2 separate regions of the Homo sapiens genome follow, and region 2 is linked to region 1. Evidence: promoter capture Hi-C in human tissues and cell types (Jung and others, 2019). All regions are on one chromosome and are shown on one strand. The core of a region is centred on a gene start or on the middle of the fragment in contact, and the rest is flanking DNA. Distances in the headings are between cores, read along the strand shown. Region 1 holds the start of MTIF2 (mitochondrial translational initiation factor 2). Region 2 overlaps CCDC88A (coiled-coil domain containing 88A).

Region 1 (7,128 bases), core at 2,462-4,961:
GTTTTTTTTGTTTGTCTGTTTGCTTTTCAATGGAGAGTACATTTCCAAGTAGTGGGTATAGCCTTTTAGACTCTTCAGTATAGATTTTCTTTTACTCACTACTCAAAAATAACTTTAGTTAACATTTTAATATATATATTTTCAACTCTTTTCTTTGTGCTTTTATCTATTTTACTCACAAAAATAAGGTCATATTAATTTTGTTTTACAACTTTTTACACTAAAGAATACATTGTGAATATTATTTTATATCATTAAACATTACTAATCAGCCCTTTGTATCCATGTGTTCCACATTTGTGGATTCAAACAATTGTGGATCGAAAATTTTTTTAATTTTTTAAAAAGATGGTTCTGTCTCTACTGAATATGTACACCTTTTTCCTTGTCATTATTCCCTAAAGTATACTGTTTACATAGTATTTGCTTTGTATTAGGTATCATAAGTAATCTAGAGATGACATGAAGTATACAATGGTATGTGCTTAGGTTACATGTAAATATACGCCATTTTATATAAGGAACTTGGACATCTGTAAATTTTGGCATGCGGCAGCGGGGGTCCTGGAACCAATGCCCCATAGATACTGAGAGACACATATATTCTTCAGCATTACAAAAAAAAAAGAATGGAAATTATGAACTATTTCAATGCGTTTACCTTAACCATATAAAGCTATCTTGAACAAAATTATAAACTTTTACAAAGCCTTAAAATTTTTGGCCAGGCGCAGTGGCTCATGCCTGTAATCTCAGCACTGTGGGAGGCCAAGGCAGGCAGATCATTTGAGGTCAGGAGTTCGACGCCAGCCTGACCGACATGGTGAAACCCCGTCTCTATTAAAAATACAAAAAAATTACCTGGGCGTGGTGGCACATGCCTGTAGTCCCAGCTACTTGGGAGGCTGAGGCAGGAGAATTTCTTGAACCCGGGAGACAGAGGTTGCAGTGAGCCAAGATCACGCCACTGCACTCCAGCCGGGGAGACAGAGCGAGACTCTGTCTCAAAAAAAAAAAAAATTTTTTTTTAATGATTTATCTCATAATATGGCATTTCTACAATATGCTTATATTTTATATTTATATACAACATATATATTATATAAATATATTTATATTTTCTACTAGATAGTCTTTAAAATTGTTCACAAATGATAATAGTTATTTGATGTGACCAAAGAAATTAAGGCTCTGGACGGGTGATCTTTGCTAGATAACTAGGCATTAAATGCTACATTTCATTCTTTTTTTTTTTTTTTTTTTTTTCAGATGGAGTCTCGCTCTGTTGCCCAGGGTGGAGTTCAGTGGTGTGATCTCAGCCCACTGCAACCTCTGCCTCCTGGGTTCAAGCAATTTTCTCCAGCCTTAGCCTCCCAAGTAGCTTGAACTACAGGTGTGTGCCACCGTGTCAGGCTAATTTTTGTATTTTTAGTAGACACCGGGTTTTACCATGTTGGCCAGGCTAGTCTCAAACTCCTGACCTCAGGTGATCCACCTGTCTCAGCCTCCCAAAGTGCTGGGATTACAGGCGTGAGCCACCACGCCTAGCCTAAATGTTACATTTCAACCAATCTTCCCAAAGTGTATTTTATGGTTCTGACATAGTAAATGTATGGTTCTGACATGGTAAATAGAATATACTGAATTTTTTTTTTTGAGATGGAGTTTTGCTCATCGCTCAGGCTGGAGTGCAATGGCGTGATCTTGGCTCACTACAACCTCCACCTGCTGGGTTCAGGGGATTCTCCTGCCTCAGCCTCCCAAGTCGCTGGGATTACAGGTGCCTGCCAGCACACCCGGCTAATTATTTTGTATTTTTAGTAGAGACGGGGTTTCACCGTGTTGGCCAGGCTGGTCTTGAACTCCTGACCTCAGGTGATCTATCCGCCTTGGCCTCCCAAAGTGCTGGGATTACAGGCGTGAGCCACCGCGCCTGGCCTATACTGAATATTTTTTAAAAGAAAGAAAAGAAATGATAACAGAAACAAGTACAGTATAGCAAAGAAAGTATCTTATTAGGCAACAAAGGAACCTTAGGTGGACACTCACTCTGACAGTCAGTGTTATCTGGACTCAGCAAGTCACTTGTTTCCTATGGGCCTCATTTTCCGGATCTCTGTTAAAAATAAATAAATAAATAAGTGTTTGAATATCTGTCCTTCCTATTACAAGACTAAGAGGAGAAAATGAGATGATGTATATACTTTATCATCAGCTATTTTAAAACCATATCACATGTCTTGATACTCGCTTATAAGCTTTGAGGATTCATTGCTTATAAGTTAAAAATATTCACAAGTCATTAACTTGTTTACCTTCGGACAATTATGAGGTTGTGTATGTGTGTGTAATCGAGCAAGCATTTTACCTTAAAAGGCTTATTCGAGTAAAGATCAAGGAAAAATCTAACTTAATGCCAACGAAATAAACACATTAAGATTTAGAAATTCAGGCTGGGCGTGATGGCTCATGCCTGTAATCCTAGCACTTTGGGAGGTCGAGGCGGGCGGATCACCTGAGGTCAGGAGTTCGAGACCAGCCTGGCCAACATGGTGAAACCCCCTCTCTACTAAAAGTACAAAAATTAGCCGGGTACGGTGGCGGGCGCCTGTAATCCCAGCGACTTGGGAGGCTGAGGCAGGAGAATCGCTTGAACCCAGGAGGCAGAGACTGCAGTGAGCCGAGATCAGGCCACTGCACTCCAGCCTGGGCGACAGTGAGACTCTGTCTAAAGAAAAAAAAAAGAAGATTTGGAAATTCATTCAATAGTATTTACACACATTAAATACTTCTAAGAATGGCACATGGAAAATATCTTATTTACGTTTGTGCCCCTGGACCAAGAAGTAGAGTGCTCAGGTAACACAGGATTCCTTGAGAAAATAATTTTTAAATCAGTATGAAACCAGATTTGAGAAGAGCACAGATTAATGGAGTGGGAGGAAGGACCCTACGAGATATTAACCAAAGCACAGATATGTAATTGAGGCAGGAACTGGAAAGACACATTGGAGGCAATAACCCAAATGTCAAAACTGGAAGGAAACTTGTCACTTACTCCAAGCTCCTCATTTTACAGAAAAGGAAACGGAAATCCAGAAGGGTCAAAAAAGCTTCTCCAATGTCATACCGCTAGTTAATGGCAGTCAAGACTAGAACCCAGACGTTCTGACTCCCAGTACGGTGTTGTTTCGCCGCTAGGATATCCTTGTCAAGGAATCTGAAAAAAGTATGTTGCAAATACGTAGTTGCGTTAGGGAAAACGTCTGAATGTGAGCTGGAAGCTTTGGAACTTACCAGAAAGGTAAAAATAAATCACTGCAGAAAAATTACGGATCTGGGGTGGCTCGCCTCAAATTGGAGCCCAGAAGGCCTTGGGCCCATGGGAGGCTGGGAAGTGAGGACCTGCACCCACAGCCGCGCGCGAGGAGGGGAAGCCGGCCAGCCGCTTCCGAGAGAACAGTGCACATGCCTTCGTGAATGCCTAACGTGGGCTCACGCAGGGATTAAATGCATCTTGGAAAGGCTTCCGAACGCACAATGTTTATGAAGTTCGCGTGATTTGTGCCACTGACACGTTAGGCGAAACAACACACACCACCTGCACCGGACAACCCTGGTTAAGGGATCCTACCCACTTAACTCCTACCTACAGCCCCGGGCCCCTGGATTCTGAGCACGGGCGGAGATCACCTTCTGGACCCGGAAGAATGGTCGGTAGGTCAGTCCGTCCCCGCTACGGTCCCCGCCGGGCTTCCGGTCCCGCTGGAAAAGGTTCTTTCCGGAATTCAGAGAGTTGCTGTCGCCGCTGGGGGTGGGACTGTCTGCGGTGTCCGCGGCGGGCGTCCAGCCTGGGAGGCGCTGGTTCAACCTGTGGCTCCTCCCAGGGTCAGCCGCGCGTGGTGAATCGTTTCTGCAGGTCCCTTCCATTTCTTACTTTCCTTTCCTTTCTTTCTCTCTTTCCTTTTTTTCTTTCTGTCCCTCTCCTTTCTTTCCTTCCTTCCTTTCTTCATTTCTTCCTTCCTTTCCTCTTCCTTCCTTTCCGTTTTTCTTTCTCTTTTTTTTTTTTTTAAGAAAACTGCCTTTATTCAATTAGAAGTTGGAAAAATTAACTGGTACAGAAAAAAAGTGTAATCAGCTGGAGAAAAAGTGCCACCCATGAGAACTGATGGCTCCTCTGGGAGGGAATCTGGATACAGTGAGGATTTCTAGGAAGCAAATTACTTCTTCTCTGGGGCTATGAGAGGCCTCGGTGGTGCTTAACACTGTAGGAAACGTTAAATGGAGAATTGTGGGAGAAATGATACCTCCTTCAAAGATACGTGTTCCTAACAAGAAGGAAAAAACAAATGCAAGCGAACAGTGGCGGTAGAACCAGTTAGTATTGTGCGAACAGTACTTTCTGTTTTCTCCTAAGTCAGCTCGTGTGTATGGCATTAGGAGTAATAGAGCCAGAGTGCCTGGTTTCCTATCCCAGCTCATTCCTAGTGTGTGGTTGGGAATGTTTTGTCAACTGTCCATGTCCCAGTTTGTTCATCTACATTATAGTAATGACAGTAGCTAGTTCACAGGATTGTAATAAGGTTTTTGTTGTGTTTTTGTTTCTATTTGTTTTTGAGATGGAGTTTCGCTCTTGTTGCCCAGGCCGGAGTGCAATGGCACGATCTCAGCTCACCGCAACCTCTGCCTCCCGGGTTCAAGCGATTCTCCTGCCTCAGCCTCCCGAGTAGCTGGGATTACAGGCATGTGCCACCACTCCTGGCTAATTTTGTGTTTCTTGTAGAGACAGGGTTTTTCCATGTTGGTCAGGCTGGTCTCGAATTCCCTATTTCAGATGATCCGCCCACATCGGCCTCCCAAAGTGCTGGGATGACAGGCGTTAGCCACCTCTCCCAGACTGTTTTTTGTTTTTTTTGAGACAGTGTCACTCTGTCGCCCAAGCTGGAGCACAATGGCGCGATCTCGGCTCATTGCAACCAAACTCCGCTTCCTGGGTTCAAGTGATTCTCCCGCCTCAGCCTCCCGCGTAGCTGAGATTACAGGGGCACATCACCATGCCTCACTAATTCACCATGTTGGCCAAGCTGGTCTCGAACTCCTGACCTCAGGTGACTGCCCACCTAAGCCTCCCAAAGTGCTGGGATTACAGGCATGAGCCACCACGCCCGGCTGCAATAAGCTTTTAATGGGTTGATAAACTGTTGATAAGTAGTGCCTGGTTCATAGTATGTGTTTGCTGTTATGGTTATTACTGCCTGCCCCCAGAGCTTTCCCTCATCTTGCTTGGACATTATGACTTTCAGCTGGTCGTTTTGACCACAACCATCACCACCTCTCAAATATAAATATTGTTTTATTATCTCTGTCTTTTGGTAAAAGGAATTTGAGAAGAAAACAAAATCAATCAATTAATCTTTGTCTTTAAGATCTACCACTCCCCTGGGTAATTGGTATGGTACAGAAGTTCATTACTCAAAAGCATACTTGCCATTGAGGGAAGAGAGAGACCCTCTCATATTGTTTTATATTGTTTTATACTCAGTACCTGTTTTAAGAGAGAAAAAAGAAGTGAAATCAAAGACAGGCAGTCCGGCGCCAGGCCCAAAACCAGGCCTGGCTCTGCCTGGCCTAAACCCAGTAGTTAAAAATCAACTCAGGCTGGGCGCAGTGGCTCACGCCTGTAATCCCAGCGCTTTGGGAGGCCGAGGCGGGTGGATCACGAAGTCAGGAGATCGAGACCACCCTGGCTAACACGGTGAAACCCCGTCTCTACTAAATATATATTAAAAAAAATTAGCCGGGTGTGGTGGCGGGTGCCTGTAGTCCCAGCTACTTGGGACGTTGAGGCAGGAGAATGGCGTGAACCTGGGAGGCGGAGCTTGCAGTGAGCCGAGATGGCGCCACTGCACTCCAGCCTGGGTGACAGAGCGAGACTCCGTCTCAAAATAAATAAATAAATAAATAAATAAATAAATAAATAAATAAAATAAAAATCAACTCATAACCTAGAAACCGATGTTATTCATAGATTCCAGACATTGTATAGAACATTGTGAAACTCCCTGCCCTGTTCTGTTTGTCTCTGACCACCGGTGCATGCAGCCCCTGTCACGTACCCCTTGCTTGCTCAAATCAATCACGACACTTTCATGTGAAATCTTTAGTGTTGTGAACCCTTAAAAGGGACAGAAATTGTGCACTCAGGGAGCTCGGATTTTAAGGCAGTGGCTTGCCAATGCTCCCAGCTGAATAAAGCCCTTCCTTCTACAACTCGGTGTCTGAGAGGTTTTGTCTGCGGCTCATCCTGCTACACCATCATCTTACCTCCTAACTCATGCCCCCATCCCAACCTACCAACCTCTTTTTTTTCCCCACTTTCCCAATGCCTACTACAAAGGTGTGTAATCGGTGTTACTGAATGATTTAATGCAAACTCCTCTCCTGGACATTTTTTTTTTTTTGAGATGGAGTCTCACTCTGTCACCCAGGCTGGAGTGCAATGGCACGATCTCAGCCCACTGCAACCTCCGCCTCGCAGGTTCAAGCGATTCTCCTGCCTCAGCTTCCAGAGTAGCTGGGATTACAGGTGTCTGCCTCCATGCCCGGCTAATTTTTTTTGTATTTTTAGTACAATTGGCCTGGCCGGTTTTGAACTCCTGACCTGAAGTGATCTGCCCGCCTCAGCCTCCCAAAGTGCTATGATTCCAGGTGTGAGCCAGTGCGCTAGGCCTGGAAATTTTTTTTAACTGAACCTAACAGGCACAACAGTTGAAAACTATTGAAGTTTACTCCAACTGCTATCATTTTACCTACTACTCGCAGATATCTACTGAAGTTTAATTTCTGTGAGAAGTAATTCTTTGCTGTCTTACTTGGCTTGCAAGGCAGTTGAGAAACAAGCAGAAATCAGTTGGTAAACCATCAAAGTAGTTGCCAGATCTTTTTTCCACAATATTAAGGTGAAAATAACCATATATGCATCTATGTTCCTCTAATTTTCTAATCATTAAGATTTTCTAATCATGCTAATGTAGAAAATTCAAGCAATATACCAAAATATAGAAAGTAGCAAAAAAAAAAAGAAAAAAGAAGAGAATGAAAACAGTTAAAGGAACAGAGAAGCCAACC
Region 2 (7,525 bases), core at 2,241-4,740, 97 kb after region 1:
GTAATTCTAATAACTTGCTTTAACTTTCATAACAAACAGCAAAAATAATTACACTTCCAAGGATGGTGGCAAATTCAGTAACTTGCAATACTTAGCATTTATTCAGAATAAAACAAATCCATATAACTAGCATAAAGCAAGTATGTCTCTATAATGGGAGACTACCTATAAAACTACATCTTGTAAAGTACTAATATGCTTATTGTTGATAATAATGTTACTGATAAGAAATCTGGGCTTTACAAATGCTAAATAAGAGAAAAGATGTCCTATGGAACACAAAAGTCTTTTGAACAAAGAATATTTTAAATACTACCAATTTTCACTATAAAAAATTTTCTTTTCCCTTTTCTAATCAACATGTAAAATTTAACATACTAATTCTAAAGTGTCTTTATAAGATTAAAAGCCCAAGAATAGACAGACATAGAAACAGCAGCTTTTAAAATGAATCTTAACAAATTTTAATTTCAATTATTTGACACTGCACAATATGCCCTAGACTTAAGTTTTTATATGAATGCTACAAATCATTAATGTGTTTATAATTCAAGTAATATCTTTAATAAAAATTATGCATCTATTCTTTCAAAAGAAAATCAATGGAATAATACTAAGCTTGTCATCTTACCTCACTATCGTTTTGAATTACAAGCAGTGTTCCACTTTCTGCTGTTTCCATTTACTGCTTTGTAATCCATTCTAACAAAGACATATACCTCATTCCTCAAATAACACTTTCTGCCTATGTCACTATAGAATAAAGGCAAGAGTATATTTGTAGTTAACAGTGTGCCAAGTGTAAGAAACTATCTCTAAAGAGAAGACAATTTGTATAAAAGCAGGGTCCATCTATATTTGTTGATTTGTTCTTGCTTATTCTATGACTTTGAAGTATTTTAGGAGATAGACAAATAAACACACCACAAGCTTCATAAATAGCACGTAAAATTGTATATATGTCATTACCTCTTGAATATGTGCGGCAACCGCTGCTTTTGTATCAAAATCTAAACCTTGAATTCTTTCAATAAATTCCTCTTTTTTCTGACACTAAAATAAATGAATAAAATAGTTATTCATACTTTATAGGGTATGGTCCTTAAAATGTTATATATAACTAAAACTTTATGAGGTTTGCTATATTTTGAAAAGTATAGTAAGAGTTTTGTTTTGCATTTAAATTGTCCAACATACTTACCTAATAAACAACAATTTAGAAATAATTATTTTAAAAAGCAAGGCACTGAAAATCCATACTATTTTTATGCTGGAAAGTTCTAAAGTGGGAAACCATTACACAACCCATCTGAGGTTAGCACAATATTATTATGCTAACTTTACACACAGAGAAGTAAAGAATCAAGAACTTGTTTCAGTGAGGATAAGTTACTTGCCAAAAAACACAGTGAGTCAGTGGCAGAATTCGGAATACAGCCAAAATGCTCAGTCAGTCCCTGACTATTACCAAACAACACAGCCTTTCTTCTTGGAAAAAAAATTTAAGCAATTTTTACTTCAAGCTTACAATTCATTCTCACATCTTCATCCTATCAAGCTTAATAAAAGAAACCCACTTTTGTGGCCCAGTTCAACATTTATAACATAATCTAATAAATATTTGATTTGTTTCTAACAGAGCAAAGTTACCAGAGGCAAACTTAAAAAATATATACATGAGTACACACGTAACCAAATGGAATAAAGGGGGTAATTCTTTATTGTGTAACTTTTAAAAAGCTTTATATAAATTAAAAATATTAAAATGCAAAACAATCTTTTCCTTCCAGTCAGCATTAACAATTTAACATGCATTTTAATCTCCACCTTCACCTACATCTCTAATGCTGCAAACCAACTGCTAGTATCACTGTATTCTTACAGCTAACAAATGCAAAGTGCCTACAAAATAGACAGCACTGCCTTGTCTAACTTAGATGCATCTCCTGGGCCAATTACTGAACTACTAGTGAGGACAATATAGTCACAAAATTACAAACTAGCTCTTTGATCATGAAACTTATAAGGCTCTGATTTATGCTTTACGTGTTTATTTTATCAAACTGTAATGCTATATTTTCTACTACTATACAATTTAAATACACTTCCATCAATGCAGAAAGTTCTATATCTTGTAAACACAGAATTATTAGGATAATAAAATGGTTAAAACTAAATTACCAGAAATGTATAATTCCTAGCTGTGATTAGGAAGTCAGAGTTTTGGGTGGATGGAATAAAACTTAGTGGGTTTAAACTCAAGAATTTTTTTCTAGCAAATAATACTTGACAGGCCTTGTAAGAACAATTAAGAATTACGTTCTAATCATAAATTCATAGCATATATAACATAATTAACTTTTCAGGTATAGTAACATCAATTTTAAAATTTAACACTACCAAAATTGTTGACCTACACAGTTTCTGAACCTATCAGAACACAAAACAGCATAATTATTATCAAAGGTAATGACTATGACTCACCAAAGAGTTCCTTAATTCAACTGCCGTATCTTTCTCTGCCTTCAGTTTAGACTAAATAGATATACTTCCCTTTTCTAAGCCAGAGCCACTTGTTTTTTACTTGTACTATCTTTAGGAGCTCGTCCTTTAGCACAATCTCAACACAAATCAATGAAAATTTTCCCTTTACTCTTGTAACACACACGATTTCTACTAAATCTCACACCTTAATTTAACTCTTAGAAGCTAAGCATTCTCAAAATGTTTTATAAACAGGTTGGGCTTCCCTAAGGATACAGAATAAATTTCATAGGCTTTTGAAGGCTAAAAAAGAGAAAGACTGTCAAGATGGAAAAAAGAATAAAATATTCACACTTTGAAGCTGAATAATCAGATCAAATTTCTATATGAGAGCTGCCCAATACGGTGATCATTAGCTATATGCAGCTACTGAGTACCTGAAATGTAGCTAGTGCAACTGGGAAACTGAAATTTTAATTTAATTGTAATTAATTTTAATTTAAATAGCCACATGCGGCTAGTGGCTACTGTATTGAATAGGCCAGCTCCAGAGCATGAGAAAGTCTGGTGTTAAAAACAGATATATAGCTTAATACCAGCTGTGAAGACTAAATAATATCAGCAAATTGTTTTTTCCAATTAAAATTAAGCTCTCTTATCTTTATGTAAAGTTCTTAAACTATCATGGGCACTAAAATTAATTTTTTAACTCTATTGTATTATAGTAACTGATTACTAAGCCAGTAGATTACCATGATATTCTAAGAATACGACATGGAGGCCAGGCGTGATGGCTCAAGCCTGTAATCCCAACACTTTGGGAGGCTGAGGCAGCTGGATCACCTGAGGTCAGGAGTTCAAGACCAGCCTGGCCAACATGGTGACACCCTGTCTCTATTAAAAATACAAAAAATTAGCCAGGCATGGTGGCAGGCGCCTGTAATCCCAGCTACTTGGGAGGCTAAGGCAGAAGAATTGCTTGAACCCAGGAGGCGGAGGTTGTAGTGAGCCAAGATTGCGCCACTACACTCCAGCCTAGGCAACAGAGCAAGACTCTGTCACACACACATACACACACACACACACACACACACACACACACACACACACACAAGATATGATGTGGAAACTTGGACATAGGAAAAAAGCAAAAAAAGTGATTAGGGTGGGAGGTGGGTGGGAGAGATATGCATAAACCCTAAAGTTGTACATCTTCTACCAGAGATCTTAAGCCCTTAATACTTTATTCCTCAAATTCCTCATATTTTCAATACCTGCTCTATGATCTTAAAGAAAGAAGACAGGTTTATATGGAAAAGCTATACTAAAATAGAGGAAATGGCACCCAAAACAAGCTATTGAACAAGAAAATAATAAGACAAGGAACACATTATAGTGTTTTAAATAAGAAAACCGATAATATAGGTCTAAACAAATCATAGTTCTACCAAAGAGCAATAAGCAGGGATTCAAACAGACATTTGTACACTCATGTTCATAGCAACATTGTTTACAAGGGCCAAAAAATGGAGGCAACTCAAGTGTTCATCAATGATGAATGGATGAACAAAATTTGGCATATATAAATAATGGAATATTATTCAGCCTTAATAAGGAAGGAAACTGACACATGCTATAGCATGAAAAAACCTTAAAGACATTACGCTAAGTGAAATAAGCCCATCAAAAGGACAAATACTGTATGATTCCATTTATATGAGGTACCTAGAACAATCGAATTCATAGAGACATAAAGTAAAATGGTGGTTACCGAGGTCTGGTAACAAAGGGAGTCATCATTTAATGGGTACAGAGTTTTAGCTTCAGAAGATGAGAAAAATTCTTCAGATGGATGGTGGTAATGGTTACACAACAATGTGAATGTACAGCAATCAGAATACCACTGAACTATATACTTAAAAAATTGTTAAAATGGTAAATTTCCTATTATGTATTTGAAAACAATACTTGTATCAACAAAAGTCTCCCTCTTTGAGCTATATTTGTATTTTTAAATATTCTCAGAAAAACAAATGCCTTGCTAGAAATTGTTTTATTTCCTTGTTTTTTTTTAAGAGACTGGGTCTTGCTACGTTACCAGGCTGGAACACAGTGGTTATTCACAGGCATGATCATACCATATGGCTGCCTTGAACTCCTGGCCTCAAGTGATCCTCCCAAGTAGCTGAGACTAAAGGCGCATCATTGAACCAAGCAGAAACTTGTTTTATTTCTAAAATGTTAACCTTTAAGATGCTTTACAGATCATTGATAAGTAAACAATAGATTGTAGCCATCAAACTAACCAAGTTCAAAACTGGTTTTCAGAATCAAATACTAACGGTAGATTCCTTCTAAGGGTACATAAAAGGGTCAAAATTTTAATTCCAACCACACTTGACACTCAGTTACTTTCAGCACTACCCAACCTGGCCAAAGTCCAAAATAAGTAATATTTCTGGATACTAAGCAGCCTGCACTGATAGGTATTATGTAGGTTTTAAGTTCTGCTAAAAAGAGATGAATTTCACATAGTCTTAGAACAAAGAAATTTCCAAACAAAACACTGCAAAACTTTTTCTTCTGCATAGGATGGTTTCACCTAGGACTCTCTAACTACTTCAGGGCTAGGATGAAGAGTCACAGATGTGTGAAAATTCTAGGTGATGCTCAGAACTGGTTCAGAAGACTTGGGTTGCCCATTGAAAAAGATTCTGGAGGAACTTGACTGAGTTGGACAGCCAATAACAAAAATACCCAAGCCCTGGCCTTGGATGGTTTTCTTCATATTTAAAGTTATTTATGTGGCTTTTACTTACATATAATCAAGGATTAAAAGTCATAATTTATTTTGTCAGGTAAGATCTTTGGATAATGGTTAACTTTACTGTTTTTGAATGCTGCTTCCTCTTAAGAATTTCATTTTTTTTCTTCAAAAGAAGAAAACATTTTTCAATTTCCCAATGCTTGTTTCTCTCTCTCTTTCCCCCCTCCCTCTCTCTCTCTTTCTCCCTCTTTAATTAAAAAAAAATTTTTTTTTGTATAAATAGAGTTTCCTTATGCTGCCCAGGTTGATCTCAAACTCCTGGCCTCAAGCAATCCTCCTGCCTCAACCTCCCATAGTGCTGAGATTACAGGCATGACCCACTGCACCCAGCCCTATTTCTTTTCATGAATATAGTATCTCTTGAAACCTGTGGTCCACTGATTTCCTAAACTTTAGTATCAGCAAATTGTATCTTGCTATTTCTATCTACAAATAACAATTATAACAGATAAAATTGATTGACCTAGATGTGGGAAAACATGCTATTTACATATTAGAATTTTAATCTGTTCAACTATAAGATGAACAAATTTTCTGAAATAGAGAGGACATTTTACAAAATATTCCAACAATACTTGTTGGCTGATTGGTTTCCTCAATAGCTTCTTGTCCAGAAACACATTCTGGCTATTAAGTATCAACAAAGACTTCTAATTGTTTATATGGTCACAGCTGAAGGCTGACAGATTTTGGTCACACATTTTATATTATTAGTAGTAGTGGCTCCAAAACACCCACAGAATAATTTTTTTCTTTTTTTTGAGATGGAGTCTTGCTCTGTCACCCAGGCTGGAGTGCAGTGGCACAATCTTGGCTCACTGCAACCTCCGCCTCCTGGGTTCCAGCAATTCTCCTGCCTCAACTTCCCGAGTAGCTGGGATTACAGATGCCCACTACCACACCCGGCTAATTTTTGTATTTTTAGTAGAGACAGGGTTTCACTATGTCAGCCAGGCTGGTCTGGAACTCCTGACCTCAGGTGATCCACTGTTCCGGCCTCCCAAGTGCTGAGATTACAGGTGTGAGCCACCATGTCTGGCCTGAAATCTGAACTCTATCTTAAAGTGGCAAATCCAGTCCTTCATAACTCAATTCATGTAAACTCTCCAGTCTAATACCTTGCCACTCATCCCCATGAATCCTACGTTTCAACCACACTTTTTTTTTTTTTTTTTTTTGAGATGAAGTCTTGCTCTGTCGCCCAGGCTAGAGTGCAGTGGAGCCATCTCAGCTCACTGCAACCTCCATCTCCCAGGTTCAAACCGTTCTCCTGTCTCAGCCTCCTGCGTAGCTGGGACTACAAGCGCAAGCCACTATGCCCAGCTATTTTTTTGTATTTTTCTTTTGGCAGAGACAACGTTTTACCATGTAGCCAGACTGGTCTTGAACGCCTCACCTCAAATGATCCACCCACCACCACCCCTGGCCCAACCACACTTCATGTTCCTTGAATAGGGTGTTTTCTCAACATCTTTGCTCTCATTTCAAATATTACCTTGTCAGAGGGCTTTCCTAATACTACCAGTAAACTTAAGAAAATACTTCTTCAATGCACCAATGTATATTACATTACGGTAATTATCACCTCAAACTCGTACTGTTTACTCTTGTCTTCTCTAAAATTCAAACTCCTTGAGCTTTACGTCTTTTTTCTAAAATCCTTGTCCCTGTCCTTTACTATAGCACCCATAAACATTAAAAGAAAAAAATTAGGTCACTAACATTTTTGAAATGCAGAATGATAACATTTTTCAAAATTGGATCCTTCCTCTTTTCTTGGTAGATACATCATTCTGGCACCACAATAGATGCAAGTCTTAAGGGCTCTCAAGTAAAAGCATAATTCTGCTATGACTACATGGACATAAAATATATATAAAGATGGGTCTTTAAGTTTCTTGACAAGCTGATATCATATCAAAAACCAAGGTCTGACACCCTTTCCATCTCCTCATTTCTAAAAAACCTTGAATGATGTTAACATAGGTTAGAATGATGGTCTCCTTGAGCCTTTGCTTTGTTTTCTACAGTTGATAAAACCTATTCTCTCTTCATATGAAAAAAATTAGGCCGGGCATGATGACTCAAGCCTGTAATCCCAGCACGTTGGAAGGCCGAGGCGGGCAGATCACCTGAGGTCAGGGTTTTGAGACTAGCCTGGCCAACATGGTGAAACCCTGTCTCTACTAAAAATAAAAAATTAGCCAGGTGTGG

What was found. The method cuts DNA at HindIII sites, captures the fragments that hold promoters and counts their contacts. A contact is called where the count stands out against the background at its distance.
Region 2: a fragment that was not itself captured here is called in contact with the fragment with the promoter of MTIF2 in region 1 in 4 of the 25 tissues and cell types used here (adrenal gland, dorsolateral prefrontal cortex, hippocampus and 1 more).

The regions. Positions count from the first base shown.
Region 1 is chr2:55,265,520-55,272,647 of GRCh38, forward strand. It overlaps MTIF2 (mitochondrial translational initiation factor 2), which reads right to left and starts at 3,712. Exons shown (of 16, transcript NM_002453.3): 1 at 3,650-3,712; 2 at 3,059-3,220; 3 at 2,050-2,116. RefSeq lists enhancers at 3,655-3,804, 3,750-4,573. The HindIII fragment of the contact is 5,929 bases long and covers 2,686-7,128 here.
Region 2 is chr2:55,362,981-55,370,505 of GRCh38, forward strand. It overlaps CCDC88A (coiled-coil domain containing 88A), which reads right to left. Exons shown (of 33, transcript NM_001365480.1): 6 at 970-1,053. Among named protein-coding and RNA genes, the nearest start is that of CCDC88A, 53 kb to the right of the region's middle. The HindIII fragment of the contact is 6,438 bases long and covers 272-6,709 here.